3 separate regions of the Homo sapiens genome follow, and regions 1 and 3 are each linked to region 2. The links are contacts of gene promoters, found by promoter capture Hi-C in blood cells and fetal thymus (Javierre and others, 2016). All regions are on one chromosome and are shown on one strand. The core of a region is centred on a gene start or on the middle of the fragment in contact, and the rest is flanking DNA. Distances in the headings are between cores, read along the strand shown. Region 1 overlaps TPT1-AS1 (TPT1 antisense RNA 1). Region 2 holds the start of AKAP11 (A-kinase anchoring protein 11). Region 3 holds the start of PROSER1 (proline and serine rich 1).

What was found. Contacts are between HindIII fragments. The CHiCAGO score rates a contact against its expected background, and 5 or more counts as called.
Region 1: a fragment that was not itself captured here is called in contact with the fragment with the promoter of AKAP11 in region 2 in 1 of 17 cell types (naive CD8 T cells); the score reaches 6.2 in naive CD8 T cells.
Region 3: a contact is called between the fragment with the promoter of PROSER1 here and the fragment with the promoter of AKAP11 in region 2, in 5 of 17 cell types (naive CD8 T cells, naive CD4 T cells, total CD8 T cells and 2 more). The highest score is 10.7, in naive CD8 T cells.

Annotation. Positions count from the first base shown.
Region 1 is chr13:45,342,070-45,345,086 of GRCh38, reverse strand. It overlaps TPT1-AS1 (TPT1 antisense RNA 1), which reads right to left. Exons shown (of 11, transcript NR_024458.1): 2 at 1,547-1,661; 3 at 641-708. LOC124903169 (a long non-coding RNA gene) reads right to left here. Exons shown (of 2, transcript XR_007063781.1): 2 at 1,784-1,800. Among named protein-coding and RNA genes, the nearest start is that of TPT1-AS1, 2.2 kb to the right of the region's middle. RefSeq lists an enhancer at 1,678-2,465. The HindIII fragment of the contact is 1,762 bases long and covers 854-2,615 here.
Region 2 is chr13:42,270,523-42,273,633 of GRCh38, reverse strand. AKAP11 (A-kinase anchoring protein 11) reads right to left here and starts at 1,482. Exons shown (of 13, transcript NM_016248.4): 1 at 1,406-1,482. RefSeq lists a silencer at 1,223-1,572 and an enhancer at 2,113-2,292. The HindIII fragment of the contact is 2,900 bases long and covers 1-2,296 here.
Region 3 is chr13:39,035,945-39,039,338 of GRCh38, reverse strand. It overlaps PROSER1 (proline and serine rich 1), which reads left to right and starts at 1,250. Exons shown (of 13, transcript NM_025138.5): 1 at 1,250-2,141. The coding sequence starts at 2,097. It overlaps NHLRC3 (NHL repeat containing 3), which reads right to left and starts at 883. Exons shown (of 7, transcript NM_001012754.4): 1 at 616-883; 2 at 51-203. The coding sequence starts at 699. RefSeq lists a silencer at 1,540-1,769 and an enhancer at 2,912-3,021. The HindIII fragment of the contact is 10,591 bases long and covers 1-3,394 here.

The DNA of each region.
Region 1 (3,017 bases), core at 485-2,984, 3.1 Mb before region 2:
CAGTGGTGCAATCTCGACTCGCTGCAACCTCCACCTCCCAGGTTCAAGCAATTCTCAGGCCTCAACCACCCGAATAGCCGGAACTACAGCCGCCTACCACCATGCCTGGCTAATTTTATTATTTTTAGTAGAGACGAGGTTTCACCATGTTGGGCAGGCTGGTCTCAAACTCCTCACCTCAAGTGATCCGCCCAACTTCACTTCCCAAAGTGTTGGGATCACAGGTACGAGCCAGCTCACCCAGCCTGTTTTCAGCAATTTCTTTCCCGCCATGCAGCCCTCCTGCAGTTGCCTCAAGTTACTTTCAAGATGTGACTGTTGAGCAGTTTCCTGCTAATAGAGGGTCAGAATGATCACACTTCTCTCAGCCCCTACACAGCAAGCCAGATCTCCATTTGGCTGTTTTCTCTTTCTGGCAAAAATTGTTCAAATGAGCTAGAGTCAAATATAAGTATTCACAAAACACTGGGGTCATTTAAAAAAATCATTTGCTGAAATTGAAGAGTTTATGGTGCCAAGTAATATATTTGAAAAGAAAATTTGCCCAAGTCAATGGATTTCAAAACACTTGACTTATAACCACAGGAAGAAATATATGTGGGATCTAGTACATTCATACATACATAAATCTAAAACATACCTGGGAGTGGTGGCGCGTGCCTGTAATCCCAGCTACTCAGGGGGCTGAGGCAGGAGAATCGCTTGAACCTGGGAGCCAGAGGTTGCAGTGAGCCGAGATGGTGCCACTGCACTCCAGCCTGGACAACACAGCGAGATTCATTCTCAAAAAATAATAAAATAAAATAAAATAAAATAAAATAAAATAAAATAAAATAAAAATAAAATAAAAGCTTCACAAAATAATACTCACCTTTACTGTGATTCGCCTTTATATATGATTTTTCTTTTCTATTCTTATTTCATTTTAAATAAAGTTGTTCACTATTCACTAAATTGTTTCTCAACCGTCTGTTTATTCTCATTGGTTGGGTGTTCAAGATCTTTTCTTTTCAGAGCCCGCAATTTTATCAATAAAATTTTTGTTGTTGTTTGTAGTTTGAGACAGAGTCTCGCTCTGCTGCCCAGGCTGGAGTGCAGTGGCGCAATCTCGGCTCACTGCAACCTCCGTCTCCCAGGTTCAAGCGATTCTCTTGCCTTAGCCTCCTGAGTAGCTGGGATTACAGGCAACCGCCAACAGGCTCGGCTAATTTTTGTATTTTTAGTAGAGACGAGGTTTCACCATGTTGGCCAGGCTGGTCTCAAACTACTGACCTCAAGTGATCCACCTGCCTCGGCCTCCCAAAGTGCTGGGATTACAGGCGTGAGCCACCGCGCCCGGCCAAAGGCAAGATTTTAATCTAGGGTGCCATGACTCTTCAGTACTTTTTTTCACCACGACTATATTTTTATAAAACTTAAAGAACTGTTTCGACCTGAATATGAGATTGGGCAGTTGAGAGTAATGTTTGAGAGTACTGCATGGGTCAATGATAATATTTCTGAATAGTTTGGAAGTATTAAAACTGAAGAAAATAATTATACTTGCCGGGTGCAGTGGCTCACGCCCGTAATCCCAGCACTTTGGGAGGCCGAGGCGGGCAGATCGCCTGAGCTCAGGAGTTTGAGACCAGCCTGGCCAACATGGTGAAACCCTGTCTCTACTAAAAATACAAAAAAATTGCCTGGGCGTGGTGGCAGGCACCTGTAATCCCAGCTACTTAGGAGGCTGAGGCAGGAGAATCGCTTGAACCCGGGAGTCAGAGGTTGCAGTGAGCCGAGATCATGCCACTGCACTCCAGCCTGGGCAACAGAGCAAGACCCCATCTGGGCGGGGCGGGGTAGAAAATAATTATACTGTAATAATCTGGAAAAAAAATGTTCACACAGTATTAATGTGTGATAATCATCTCATACATTCCAGAAATGAGGTTTGAGAGCCTTCACTGACCATGTGTCATATCCATTTATTTTGGGATCCCTTTCACCCCATTTTTAACTTCCTCCCAGTTGCCCAATGTCCTCTGGAGTTTTCCATCCAAGACCCCCATCTTTTTTTTTCCCTTTCCCCCCTTTTTAGCTTCCTCCCAGTTGCCCAATGTCCTCTGGAGTTTTCCATCCAAGAACTCCAGCTTCTTTTTTTGGGGGTGGGGGAGGACGGGGTTTCACTCTTGTTGCTCAGGCTGGAGTGCAATGGCGCGATCTCGGCTCACTGCAACCTCCGCTTCCCGGGTTCAAGCGATCCTCCTGCCTCAGCCTCCCGAGTAGCCGGGATTACAGGCGCGTGTCGGGATCACACGTGTGAGCCACCACGCCCAGTCCCCCCATCTTCTTAAAGGGGTTAATTTCTTGGCTCTTGCATTTTGACTTTTCCATCATTCCAATTGCCATCCTGTGTCCTGCTCTTTCCCAAGGGTTGCATTCTTACTCTGCTGAATGCTATATTATTGGATTTATGAACAATTGTTAATGTATTATAATTGTCTGATACTTTGATTTACCAGAATGAACACTTCTATAAGTAGGACTGGATCGAACTTGTTCACAATTGGAATCTTGGTGCAAATCCTAGTTCTAAGGGATACAAAGCACAAAATATTTGCGAAATAGAACAAGCTTTCAGACTTCATACTGGCATGTATCTTTGCCTTATGCCAAAGATGTGACGATGTGACTAAATACGGAAGTTTTGTTTTGCTATTGAGCCAAGGTCTTGCTCTGTCATTCAGGCTGGAGCGCAGTGGTGCAATCATAGCTCAGTGTAACCTCCAACTCCCGGGCTCAAGCGATCCTCCCAGCTCAGCCTCCCTAATAGCTGGGATTACAGGCAGGCACCACCGCACCCAATTAATTTTTAATTTGTGTGTGTGTGTGTGTGTGTAGAGACAGGGTTTCAGTAGTTGCCTCCCAAAGTTCTGGGATTACAGGCATGAGCTACCATGCAGGACCTGTTTTGTTTTAATACTTAGTAATTGGGTGTAAAGTCCTTCAAAAAACAGGTGGGGCAGGTGGGAAACTCC
Region 2 (3,111 bases), core at 233-2,732:
TCACTGGCCTAGGAGTCCACTGCTAGGCCCTTATCAATATTGTCGATACTGCAGTTATGTGGGTACATACATTAGTCTCTAGCTCAGCTTGGGAACCCACTTCTTCCCTGATTTCCTTACATTCTTTGACCTTTCATAAATTACTGTTACAGCTACAATAGTGACATTCACTGTCCACCCCTGGGTCAGTTTTGTCAGGAGGAACAACGACAAGAAAAAATGAATAATCAGGGTACCGTTTGAAAAAGTAAATGTGTTTTTCAAAAAAAAAAAAAATCATTCAATTGCACTATTTTAACTGACACCAATCATGCCAGGCACTGGGCTGCCATCCTAAAATGATGACATTAAAAAAAATATATCTGTGCATTACTGATACCCCATTTTTTCTTAGTACTCCATATTTTGAGTATTTTCAGACATAACAAAATAACAATCGACATGACATTTCTAAAACAGTGGGAAGCAGCTAAGCAAAACGAGCATTTTGCAAGCGATTGAAAAGCTGAAAAGAGAACAGGAATTAACTCCAGTTTGTACTAAAGCTATTAGGTATGTATCTCAGCAGTCTTTCTCACCATGAAACTCCTTAACATCTAAAGCTAAACCACATCCAACTTTATATGGTTTTAGAAGACAGACAAAGCAGAGAAAAAAAATGAAAGCTGGTAATATGGGGAAGAGAAAAAATGTTAGCTTTTACTGTCATTGTCACTTTTTAATACTTCGGTTACATCTACATATTTTTTATAAAGCAGCTTAGATGCCTGGATTAACAGCAGTATACTCAATCCATTCGGGGTACTTTATGGCCAGCCTTAAGCCATTAACAGCCTAGGAGAGTATTTGACAGCAAATCCAAATATCAATACTCTGAGGAGCCCCTTGACGCCTTCCGTTTACAAGATCTGAGCAGCGCCTGCTTCCAAGGCTCCGGGGGTCTGACAGTGAAGGATGCTGTTCGGGAACAAAGTGCAACGTCCTCCCAACCGCTGCAAATGTTCCTGTGCGCACACCACGAACACACACTAAGCACGCGCACCACGCACCCGGGGGGCCGTCTCTGAAGACCACCCCGGGGATGGAAACAGCCTGTCATTAAAAGGGGCGGCAGCTCCACCGCCACACTTGGGACCCCAGGAAGACGCGTCTCGAGACCCAGCACCTCCCTCTACTCTGGGCCCGGTGCGGTGAGTTTCCTCCTTCGGCCGCGCTCCTCCCGCCCTCCTCCCTCCGCCATGCGAAGGCGCAGCTCTCGGGCGGCCCCGAAGCCAGAAGGGGGACCAGCGGCAGGCGGAGGGGCTGGAGCGCCGGAGCCGGGCCGCTCCATCCATGCCGGCCGCACACCCGCCGCCACCCCATCTAAACGCAGCCTCCGCGGCGAGCACGTCGGCGCCCGGCTCACCTGGGGGCCGCAGCCTCCGCAGCTCACAGACATGTCACCGGCCTCAACGACCCGTGAGCGAGCCGGGCAAGCAAGCTGGCCCCCTCCCGCGCTGACCCCCAGCCCTCCCCCTCCCAGCCCCGCGGCCCGCCCCCGCCCTGCCCACCCCTCGGCTTCCGCCGCCGCCGCCGCCGCCGCAGCTCCGGCCCGCAACACCGCCTACTCTCCACGCCTCCCACTCTCTCTCGCGAGAGGGCAGCGCGCCTCTCGCGAGAAAAATTCCGCGGCCGAGCCCGCGCAAAAGTGGGTGGGCGTTTAAAAAGGGAAAGAAGGAACAGGAAAAAAAGCCTTCCCACGTGCTCCAGTGCAGCCCGCGGAGCAGCCCGCGGGGCAGCCCCGCTGGTCACATGACTTAAAGGGGGCCTCTCCATTGGCCGGGACCCACTCAGCCTTGGGAGCTTTAAATTCGAGGGCGACCTACGAACCTGCGGCGGACGTCTTGCGCGCTTCCTGGTCCGTTGCCTTGGAAACGGCTTAACCCTTCCCTCTGGCAAGTCCCCAGGCCTTGGCTTGCTCCGCAGATTTGGTTTCAGGCTCTGCCTCTTTTCCCTCGACCCCTTAGTCTTAACAGCCTGGGGCCAGCTGGGCTCCTTCTTCGCCACAAGGCTAGTTTTGCTTTCTTCCGAAGCCCGGGGCCCTTCCCAAAGTGGCAGCCCCACCAGATCCGAAGGCCCAAGGAAGGCTCATCCTTTCTGATGGCTCCGCCCCTTCTCCCAGCATCTCCGGGGAGGACCACTCACAGCGCACCGGGCAACCAGCCCTATCCCAGCCAAGAAGTAGCTTCCAGGGTTCTCAGGGCCCTAGTGCTCACCCTGATGTCTTTACGTGGTATGGAAATCGGAAAGTAAAGCTTTGGTCACTGGGAAGCCTAGCCAGAGATGAAAAGCTGTTATGGTGATTATTTTCACCTAAAATCGGAAGGGCCAGTCCAGTCAAATTGCCCTGTCTCCTAAAGGGCATCTGTTCCTCAAGAGTGGAAACACCTGGCAATAAGAAAGACATTTTTGAGTGTATCCTCGTTATGAGTTAAGTTTTGCCCTGTTCAGAGGAGAGGGTCACGGAAGAAAGGGTGCATTCGTTTGTTCATTTCTTCATTCAACAAACACTACTCTAGGCTGTTGATTGAACAATGATGAAGACAAGTAGTGTAGATTCTAGGGAACTTATCTGAGGGTGAAAAGAAAAAAAATCTGTTGGTTTTAAGCTGTATGCAAAGAAGTTACAATAAGTGACGTGATGGTGATGGTGACTGAGTGGCTAGTAAAGGGGATGCCCTTTTAAGGAGGAGATATTTTAGCAGCGATTTGAATAACAGACGCAAAAATCAGAGCATAGAGCATTCCAGGAAAAGGATAACACTAATTCAAAGGCCCTAAGTAAGGATCTATTCTAGTGCATTTGAGGGAAGAAGAAATGAGAAAGTAAACTTTCTTGAGCCTGGAGATGGAAACTGTAAGAGTTAAAGAAAGAAACACAAAAAGCAGCTTAACAGAGACAGGTTTATTTTGGAGAATAAACCTGAGAGGGGCTTCTGGCCGATTTCGGTCAGGAGTGTTCTCTCTTACAGACTAAAGGTATTTAGTGGTTTAGGGAGGGAGAGCATATTGTAGACTTGGAATGTTTCTGGGTGGAGGAGAGTTTTATTGTCAGGGGTGTAATGTCTCTGG
Region 3 (3,394 bases), core at 1-2,500, 3.2 Mb after region 2:
GCTGTTACTTCCTTTGTGTTCATAATTTTTTTAAATCTCTATTTACTTACTTGACCTATGTAAACCAATCCATTGAGGGAGTCAACTGCAACACAAAATGTTGTTCCGGTAAAATATTCTGGGTGCTTAGGCCAACCCACATCCAGCCGGTAAAGAATTTTCTCAGTTCTCCAGGAAACTGCAAAAGTAAAGTTCCTCAAAACCTTAAACAAAATCAGACAATTCAGATTTAGTTTACCGTCTAGGTAAGAACAAAAAAAGGGCGGGGGGGCCGGGTAACAGGGCTTATTTTTAAGCATGCCTTGACAACTAGAAGTTTGCTGGACTGAAATAATTCCAAAGAAATGAGCTTAGATGCCTAAAGACCAACACGACCACAATACAAGTCTGCAAATTATTTGAGGATGTAGTAAGAGTTGGGAAAGAGGAAAATGGCGATGTAACATACACAAATTTTTAAACTCAAAGGGTCAAGGCAGTTTGGACCCAGGTGCAGGCTTTGAGACAAGCTACTGAGGGAACCAGGGCCTGCCACCTCCATGCCACGACCGTGGCGACGCCTCCCAACAGGGCTACCCGCACACCCGACAGTCATTTCCTCACTACCCAACTCACTGGAGAGCCACAAAAACGCGAATGCAAAACCAAAAATGCAAGAAAGAAGCCAGCACCGGCTACGCAGACCCAGAATCTCGCCATGACCAGACGGGAAGCCAGGAGAGGGAGGGTCCGCAGGTGTCTGGGGGAGGACCTGACAGCCTCAGGCTGCAACGGTTTGCAGCGGCACAGAGGGTCTGCCCGGGGCCCGAAGACCCTATCTCCGGTTTCCCCTCCCTGGATGCACGAGCTTTGAGTACGAAAGGGAACAGAGACCAGGGCGAATGAAAATCACAGAAGACCAGTTCCGGACTTCGTGTGCATTTCGGGGTCCCCGCCCTCATGTCAGGTGCTTCGGGCTGACCCAGTGACCACCCTTTCCCGCCCTCAGGGCAGTCCGCGCCGCTGACTTTCAGTGGCCACCAAAGTATGGGCGCCCGTAGATATGCCTTAATCGCTCGCCATTTATTCTTTTTAATCCAGAGGGCAAAATCAAAACATCGCACACTCAGACACGAGGTATGGTGGGGATGACATTCAAAATAATGACCGCTAGGCTTCGGGAAGGATTTTTGCCACATCCTATTCCTACCATCCAGGCATCCGCTATGGATGCCTATATTCCCACACCAGGACCCCACCTCTGGCTTTCAGGAAAGAGGGGCCCAAGCTGGCGGCGCAGTGTTGAGTTTACTTGGGCGCGACTGGCTTTATTGTAGGTCCCCATGAGCTGGTGGGGGCTGTAGGGGTAACCAGGCAGGGCGTCTGGCGCTGTTGGGGCTGCGTTTTTCCGGAGTCCCCCTATGCGAGGCCGTGCCCCTCTTCGCCCGGCTCCTGGTGCTCCCCAGCCGCCGGCCCGCTCCCGGAAGCTGCAGCAGCTGGTAACAAAGAGCCTGCCGGGCCGCCTGCTGCCGGGGCCGAGGTATCCAGGAGTCGGGCGGAGCGGCTGGGGATGAGCGCGAGCCGGACCATGCGTCCGGGTTCGCGGCGGTGAGGGTCGCGGCCGGCGGCCGAGGCGCAGGTGCGGGTCGAGAGACCGGCGCCTCCCTCCCCGCCGCCCGTGGACTCTGAGCGCAGGTGTTTCTACTCTGCCGGCCGCTCCACCTGGGAAAGCGCCTTCAAGAGCTACCTCTGGCGGCACCTGGCCCTCAGCTGCAGGGAAACCGCACTCAAACCTGCCGCCGAGCCCGGGTTTTTCTGCAAAACTCAGAGGACCTGGCTCTTGCCCGAGGTGCCCTGAACCATTGTGTGAATAAGCTGGGGAAGCCTGACTGGAGTGTTTTTTCTTTTTAATAAAAAGAGTTTTTCTGAATCTCAATTTTTAGAAATTTTTTTTGCGAAGTTTGCAATACTCTCTACCTCTTCGCATCCTCTCTTGCTCGTGGAGTCTTTTTCCTCCTCAGCTATAAATATTTTTTACTATCGGCGGAGCAGACCAGGGATGAACGTCTTTTAATTGCAAGTATAACTGTTAAAACCACGTCGGGATAGTAGTCAAGATGGATAAAAAGTCCTTTGAAATGGTGCTGGATGAAATTAGAAAGGTAATTAGACCGATTCCATGAATTATTTTATGAGATGAATTCTCGTGTTTTAGACTCTCTTTGAGGTACTGTATGGAGATTGTGCAGAATAAGGGTCCTAGGATTGCCAAATTGGTTTGAATTTTCACGTGTAATGGAGGAGTTTATATCTTGATACGTTTCCAGTACAAATAGAAATTAAGTTACGTTAACGCCAAATTTGAGACTCAGCACGGTGTCGTGGGAATTACATTTGTAAAGCCCTCGGTTCCAAAGCCGGCTTTACAAATCCGTAATAGCTCTGTACTTTTTGGGTAAGGGGTTTAATATTTTTGAGTTTATTGCCTCATCTTTCAGTAACACAAGAGTGACTGAAAACGAGAGGTAATACGCAGAAAGTTTCTTTTATGGTAGTTATTATGATGGGGTTTTCAAATCTAAGCATAAGGTAGAGTATATTTGTTGCGTTGGCCATGCAAAATTCGTGTCCTGATGGTAAGTGTGGCATTAAGTTTAAAGTCACGTTCTTAGGAATTGGCCGTCAATAACTTGAGCTTCAAAACTTTTTTCTCCTGCTTTCCAAGTTTTTGCTGCTTTTTGAGGCTGTTGTGTGGATCGCATTTCCCAGAGTGAACCAGACAGCAACAATTCTGGAAGGTAGTCTTGAGCCTAACAATATCTCAAGCACAAAAATACCGAGAAGTTACTTATTTTAAAATGTAAGGACTTGATGTACCATTGTTACATCAACACACGGTGCTTTCCTTCGGCCTTCCGGGCAATTATTCTTTCGTCAGCTGCATACCTTTACGACCCTTGACTGAAACGGAAGAAATTGTTGCCATGTGCTCTGGTGCTTATTTCAGTTTACAAAGCTATTATTAAAATTGTCTCTGGTCTTGCTGTTTTGCTTTGTTTTTATACAGCTTTTTTCTTTTTTCAAATTGACGTGTTTAAGTTTTCATATTTGATAATACTGAACATTCTTTTTTGAACAAGTTCTGCTTTTGCAAACCTAAGTGTCCAATTAATTTTTGAAATAAAATATTGGTTTGCTAATTATATGCCTAGAAATTTGTCACAATTTGTTCTTGGGCTGATTTTTAATTACTTTTCATGAGAAAATAATTGGTGAGTCCAAGTAGACCAGCAGATTTTTACTTTTGGAAGATACAGGGTCTCAGTGTGCATATTCTCTTCCTGGTGTCATAAAAACGTCACAGTAAATTCTAAAGAGGGGAATAGGAAATTTTCCAGATATGAAAGTGTTGTTC